Regions from separate parts of the Homo sapiens genome. Here region 1 is linked to region 2. The links are contacts of gene promoters, found by promoter capture Hi-C in blood cells and fetal thymus (Javierre and others, 2016). All regions are on one chromosome and are shown on one strand. The core of a region is centred on a gene start or on the middle of the fragment in contact, and the rest is flanking DNA. Distances in the headings are between cores, read along the strand shown.

The links. The method cuts DNA at HindIII sites, captures the fragments that hold promoters and counts their contacts. A CHiCAGO score of 5 or more calls a contact.
Region 1: a contact is called between a fragment that was not itself captured here and the fragment with the promoter of CFAP54 in region 2, in 5 of 17 cell types (total CD8 T cells, non-activated CD4 T cells, activated CD4 T cells and 2 more). The highest score is 6.7, in total CD8 T cells.

Annotation. Positions count from the first base shown.
Region 1 is chr12:96,199,356-96,203,260 of GRCh38, reverse strand. The region is part of intron 1 of ELK3 (ETS transcription factor ELK3); the gene reads right to left. Among named protein-coding and RNA genes, the nearest start is that of ELK3, 6.9 kb to the right of the region's middle. The HindIII fragment of the contact is 1,794 bases long and covers 741-2,534 here.
Region 2 is chr12:96,487,840-96,491,265 of GRCh38, reverse strand. CFAP54 (cilia and flagella associated protein 54) reads right to left here and starts at 1,689. Exons shown (of 68, transcript NM_001306084.2): 1 at 1,340-1,689. The coding sequence starts at 1,656. RefSeq lists an enhancer at 1,441-1,650 and a silencer at 1,541-1,835. The HindIII fragment of the contact is 3,410 bases long and covers 1-2,244 here.

The sequences.
Region 1 (3,905 bases), core at 388-2,887, 290 kb after region 2:
TTTGGAGAAAATAGCATTAATGAATAATGAGGGGCACCAGCCCTATTTCAGAAAGATGTCTCTAAAACTGTCTAGTTCCTGGCCAGGTATGGTGGCTCATGCCTGTAATCCCAGCACTTTGGGAAGCTGAGGCGGGTGGATCACGAGGTCAGGAGTTCGAGACCAGCCTGGCCAGCATGGTGAAACCCCGTCTCTACTAAAAATACAAAAATTAGCCAGGTGGGGTGGCGCATGCCTGTAGTCCCAGCTACTTGGGAGGCTGAGGCAGAAGAATCACTTGAACCCAGGAGGCAGAGGTTGCAGTGAGCTGAGATCACTGCACTCCAGACTGGGCGACGGAGCGAGACTCCATCTCATGTTCCTGTGTTTGGGTAACAAGAATTTGGAGAGAGAGAATTCAGGTAATGAGGCAACCTGTAAATAAAGCCTGTGGTGGCCAGGCATGGTGGCTCACACTTGTAATCCCAGCACTTTGGGAGGCCGAGGCAGGCGGATCAGTTGAGGCCAGGAGTTTGAGATCAGCCTGGCCAACATGGCGAAACCCTGTCTCTAATAAAAACACAAAAATTAGCAAGGTGTGGTGGCACAAGCCTGTAATTCCAGCTACTTGGGAGGTTGAGGCAGTAGAATCTCTTGAACCCACATGGTGGAGGTTGCAGTGACCCAAGATGGTGCCACTGCACTCCAGCCTGGGCAACAGGCTAAGACTCCATCTCTCAAAAAAAAAAAAAAAAAAAGCTTGTGGTAAGGGCTCTGAAGGCCAGGAGCAGATGACTGAGGGAGATCTACTCTAGGTGACAGGAAAGGCTTCCCCAATAAAACATGGTGGAGCTGAGTGTGAACTAAAAGACGCCTACAAATTGGTTAGGCATGGAGTCTGAAAAATAGAGGGGTCGGGGGGAAAATTCTGTCAGTATTGACAAAGACCCAGTGGACAGAGGGCAGAGGACACCTTAAGCATTTGAGGAACTGAGGAAAAGTCAGTTTGCTGGCCCAAATCACATCTTGCAGCTTGAGTTAGGGGTTTTGGTCTTTATCCTAAGCTGAAGTCACTAGAAGATTTTTCAGTAGAAGAATGACCTGGTCAGATCTGTGTTTTGAAAGGATTGTTCTAGCTCCTGGGGAGAGAAGGGATCAGAGCGGGTGCAGAGGAATGTAAGAACCCTCAAGATACAGCAGTGGGGGCAGACAGCACTTTCAAAGACTATCAGAAGGAAGGAGGAGGAATTTCACCAGGTGACCAAACTCTTATCTGGTGCTACAGAGCACCAACTCAGACAGTCACTGATGTCCCCAAGAATGAGGTGGCTGTGGGTCATTAGAAATCAGTGCTGCCTGTCACAAACCTCAAAAGACTAGGAGGAAAGGAAGCATGGCAGCTAATACTGGCCTTCCACTGGAGTGTTCCTTATTCAATAAGGGGCCAAAATGGAATTCAAGGGGAAACTTATGGAGATCCCCCTTTTCCACCACAAAATAGCTGTTTGTTTAAATTCCTGCATATGTCTATAAGTCAGATGTCTGGAGATGACAGCAAGAAGTTCATATCACACTTTCACAACTCTTAGGAGTCAAGACCTTTCCTCCAAATATAGCAGTACACAAATAGGGCTTCCGACTTGAAAGGGAGTATATCTCAGCTTCTCCACTTCAATCCCTTTTTTTTTTTTTTTTTTTTTTGAGACAGGGTTTCACTCTGTTACCCAGGCTGGAGTGTAGTGGCGCAATCATGGTTCACTGCAGCCTTGACCTCCCGGGTAGCTGGGACTACTGGCACGCACCACCACGTCTAGCTAATTTTTGGCAGAGATGGGGTCTCACTATGTTGCCCAGGTTGATCTCAGACTCCTGGGCTCAAGTGATCTGCCTGCTTCAGCCTCCCAAAATGCTGGGATGACACATGTGAGCCACTGCACCCAGCCTCCACTTCAACTACTTTACCATCAGGCTAAAGAAACTGAGGTCTGGGAAGATTTACTAATATCCTCTCATCCCAATTAGTCTTCAGGTAATACATTTTTCCTAAAGCACACATATTACTTTTGGTTAAATATTTTGCGGATATCAGGTAATACAGAAAGGATTTTTCTTTTTCCTCTTACTGTATGATGAGGAAATCTACACATTCTGATTTATTTTTAACTAAGCAGATTAAATAAAATACCACAATATTTTATCAAGGTATTCTGAAGTTTAAGAATCTATATGGTAGAATCATGAAATTGCCGTAACAGAATTTTGTAAATGGCCAGGGATAATGAGACCCCATTTCTACAAAAAATAAAAAAATTAGCCAGAGGCCAGGCATGGTGGCTCACTCCTGTTAATCCCAGCCCTTTGGAGGTGGAGACAGGCAGATCTCTTGAGGCCAGGAGTTTGAGACCAGCCTGGCCAATATGGCAAAAGCCCGTCTCTATTAAAAATACAAAAATTAGCCAGGCATGGTGGCATATGCCTATGATACCAGCTACTTGGGAGGCTGAGGCATGAGAATTGCTTAGACACAGGAGGCGGAGGTTGCAGTGCGCCAAGCTTGCACCACTGCACTCCAGCCTGGGCAACAGAGCCAGACACTGTCTCAAAAAGAAAAAAAAAATTAGCCAGGTGTGGTGGTGCACACCTGCAGTCCTATCTGCTTGGGAGACTGAGGCAGGAGGATCACCTGAGCCCTGGAGTTTGAGGCTGCACTGAGCTATGACAGTGCCAGTGCACTCCAGCCTGGGTGACAGAACCAGGCTCTGTCTCTAAATACATAAGCCAAAAAACACTTGGGGACATGGAAATATTGTCTCTTTGGGTAGGGTTACATGTATGTATACAATAACACTTAAGATCTGCGCATTTTAATATATGTAAATCATACCTCAACTTAAAAAAAAGAGAGAGGGGAAGATACCAAGAGCCTCGTTTTCTTTACTCTATTGCTTGGAGTACAGGAGCCCTAGCTTCATCAGTCTTAAGAGAAGGTCTCCAACAGGAGGAGTAAGTTCTCGTGTTCTATAGCACTGCAGGATGCCTATAATACTATATAGTTTCAATTAACTAGAAGGAAGATAATGGATGTTCCCAACACAAATAAATCATAAACATTTGAGATGATGGATCTAATTACCTCGATCTAATTACTATACATGATATATATGTAAAAAATCACTATGTACCCCATAAATATGTACATTTATATCAATTTAAAAAATAAAAAGAGAAGGTATCTAGATAAGTGTTTTATACCTATCCCATCACTCCCATATTACACATGGATATTCAGAAATTGTTCTTAGCTATAGAAACTTTAAGCATATTTATGACACTATGTGTCATAAATAGATCCTTGTTTTAGAGTGTGTGAGTAAATTCATTTCAGTCTAATTCAAATTAGAATACACTAATATAACATTGTCTAAATTTCTTTAAAAATATACAAGTAAAGCCATGTTATAATCTTATTTAATTCTTAGAAAAAAGTAGTACTTTCCAGGAAATGTAAATTAATACATAGCAATAAAGTAGTCAATGACTTTATTCCTAGTGGGAATTCAAACCAAATCACAATTTATTGAAATGACTAGTTCAAAGTTTACTTTAAAACTGCTGACATATATGTAAATCTCCAGTAATGGATGAAAGGCAATTTTTATTTTGGTTTCAGGCAGGAACCATGGGGAGTTGAATTTCTGCACAGAATAGTTATTTAAAAGACTGAGTAATCTACCATTTTTGAAGACATTTAGAATTTCACAGAAGGTCACACACACACACACACACACACACACACACACAGCTAATTTTATTTACTGGGGCTGCTCTATAAGTGGCAAAACTAGAGTTTTCATGGTCTCACTGCCATGGTTTCAATCAAAAGGCTGAATGACCTCAATTCAAAGTGGCTATGAACAACAGCAATC
Region 2 (3,426 bases), core at 440-2,939:
TGTGTGACCTACTTTTTGCACAAAAATCCTCATCAATTGCTCCCATATCTTTCTCATCTTTCTCAAAAGCAACTTTTCCTGACCTTCCCTAACCAGGCTTCTCACCACCCCATTTAAAATTGCAACACTCAGGCCAGGCGCAGTAGCTCATGCCTGTAATCCAATACTTTGGGAGGTCAAGGTGGGAGGATCCCTTGAGCCCCCAAGTTCAAGGTTTCAGTGAGCCAGGATTGAGCCACTGCACAACAGCCTGTGCAAGAGTGAGACCCTGTCTCAAAAAAAAAAGATAAAATTGCAACATTCATCTCATATCCTCCAACACCATTCCCTGTTCTATTTTTCTCCCTAGCAGTCATCTCCTTGTAAGATTATTTACTTACATATTTGTTTAGTGGTTGTTTATACCCACAAAAACATATGCTCTATAAGGACATGGATTCTTATATGTTTTGTTAACTTGATGTTTTCCTAGTTCCTTGAACAGCACTTGATATACAGTATGTGCTCAATAAATAGTTGTTATATGCATAAATAAAAAATATTTTATTTTATTTATTTATTATTATTATTTTTTGAGAAGGAGTCTTGCTCTGTCGCCCAGGCTGGAGTGTAGTGGCGCGATCCCAGCTCACTGCAACCTCTGCCTCCCGGGTTCAAGCAATTCTCCTGCCTCAGCCTCCTGAGTAGCTGGGAGTACAGGCATGTGCCACCATGCCCAGCTAATTTTCGTATTTTGTATTCATGTATAAATTTTTGGCTCGCTCAAGGGTTTCACAACTTTCCATGTTATGAGTATATAAATTTGTATATGGAGAAAAAGGAATAACTTCGAGGTAGCTCAGGTTCATGAAGCTAGCTCTTGATACAATGAAGTATGTCATCCTGTGAACATGTGCACTTTAATTCCTTCTTATATTGCTATTAGGATTACAGTGACTTTTTCTTAATTTTGCTATTCATTCTGCGCAACTGTTTGCCTTTTTGGGAGTTCTATCACCATGTTATTACTGCAAACTGCGAACTCTTTTTAAGGTTCTTTCCTGCTTATGTTACCATCTTTCTTTTCTGGTCAAATAACAAATGGTGAGTTATGAAACATTTCTGTGTAGATTTTTATTTTGACCTGAGCAGGAAGCCAAGATATAACAGCTCCCAGGAATTAAGGATTGTTAAGAGCGACGAGTCTCCACTTCTTAAACTTTGTCTCTCCTGGGCCCTTCAGCCAGCCCCTGCGTCCGCAACGCTGAACCATCTCTGGGGCCACCACCTGCATCCTCCAGCCCTTTCCAGGGGTCCCTCCTCTGGCCGGCGCCCTCCCCAGTGCCCCGCCAGCGCTTACCAACGCCGGCGGAATTCGTGCTTCTCTTCCTCCGTGGTGGCTAAAGCCTTCTTTTTCCTCATAAAGCCTAACAACTCCTGGATCTCCTTCTCACAAGAGGCCAGGAGCGGGTTTTTCGCGTCCAGCGGCCCATAAAACACGGCTAGGGGCAATGAGTCCTCGGGGCAGGTCCACTGAAGCAGCGAGCTCCGGGAGCTCCCCTTCGACTCTGGGGGCGACCTCGAAGTCGCGGTGGAGGTCGGCGGCAGTTCTGGCAGAGACCCCGAGGTGGTAGAGTCGTCTGACGGAGAGCTCGAGGGGGAGCCCTGCGCCGCCATATTGACGCGCCCCGGCCCGCCTGGAGTATGTGTACACGCGGTTGCCTGGCGACGGTCTCGTGGCAACCGGGCATCCCGCGCGCATTCCGAGAAACACAGCGGCCCCTGGAGGGCAGAGCGAGAAAGAACCAGGTCCAGAAAACAATGATGCTCCTGAGGGCGTTGCCTGGTTGTGCGCTGGCACCGCTGTATGAAATGCGAACAGAGAATGTTCTGAGCAGAGCGCTGGCGAATATTAGAGCCAAAAATTTAAGGTCACAAATCCAGACTATACTCTTTATCCATGTTGGCCACTTAATAACGATAATGATGACGACCATGACCATTAACGTGTGTCAGGCATTAAGCATTTGAAACATGTACTTTCATTTATCTCATTTAATCATCATAACTACTTTACAACTTAGGATACTATTAGTATATCCATCTCACAGTTTAGGAAACCAAAGCTCAAGGAGGTTAAGTCATTTGACAAAAGTCAGCGTACAACCGTAGTGTCAGCGACCAGGTCCTCCAAAGGGAACTTGTGACTCCAAAGCCTGTGCTCAAAATGAATAGGCTGTATTGATCACTCCCCAAAACAAAGCTTATTAATCAAATTGAAATTAGAGAAATATCTGACAAGCAGTTTAAGAATCAAATACAGTTGGCCCTCCAAATCTCGGGTTCTTCATCTGTGGATTCAAGCAACTCCAGATTGTAAATATTCAGAACAAAATTAGAAATAACAATACAACAATAAAAATAACACAAAATACAACTATTTACATGGCATTTATACTGTATTAGGTATTACTAGTTATCTAGAGATGATTTAAAACATCCTGAAGGATGTGCACAAATTATATGCAAATACTACAGCATTTCATATCAGAGGCTTGAGCATCCACAGATTTTGGTATCTGCGGGTGTCATGGAACTAGTCCCCCACAGATAGCCAGGGAGTACTGAATATGCAGCTGATCCATTCTCTTTCCTCTATTTGTACCTTGAGGTCTGTAACTGTGGACATGATGTCTATGCCTCTAATAATTATGATTACATCTATTTATGCACATTCCAGCCTTACTTTAATTATCTCTGTATTCTAAATTAATGTGCATTTTGCTCAACCTTAACCATAGGACATTAATACATACTAGTGGCCTGAAGTGTTAACTCTCAAAATACTTTGCATTTTAAACAGGGCTTTTAGGAGACTTTACTTCTGATGGGGAAACTACAGACCTCCAGGGAAATACTTGGGGAGTTTATTCTTAGCCTGTGTATTATAGGCAAAAGTCAGAGTTAAATTTATTAAAGTATGAGTATTGAGAAAATGGAGAACCTTCTTTTCTATAAATTATGCAACACAATAAATTATCTAAGAGAAGAACCAGAAATATTTGGTGGCTTAGAAAAATCAGTCTTTAACCCTGAAAATTGTTACCAGTTCTATCACACTTAAATAAAGACAGTGACCCTAACACCCTGTGAACCCAATTTTCCATTTCAGACTAAGAAGCTTATTGGACCACAGCCTGATATCTTTCAAGTCTGACCTAATTTTATGCAGGCTCTGTGGGCCTGTGCTAATTTGTGAGGCTGGCCTAATATGTCATGTCTACTGTACCCTAATATTCTTTGAAGGAAAATAATTTTGCTCATCGGCACAGTTAATTATAGCCAGAGAAACTTCCTGGCAAGCAGTGAGACGCAATGACACCTCACTGTAGGAGTCCAATTCTCTAATCAGGATGTAGATATCATCCTTTGATCAACAAAGATTTT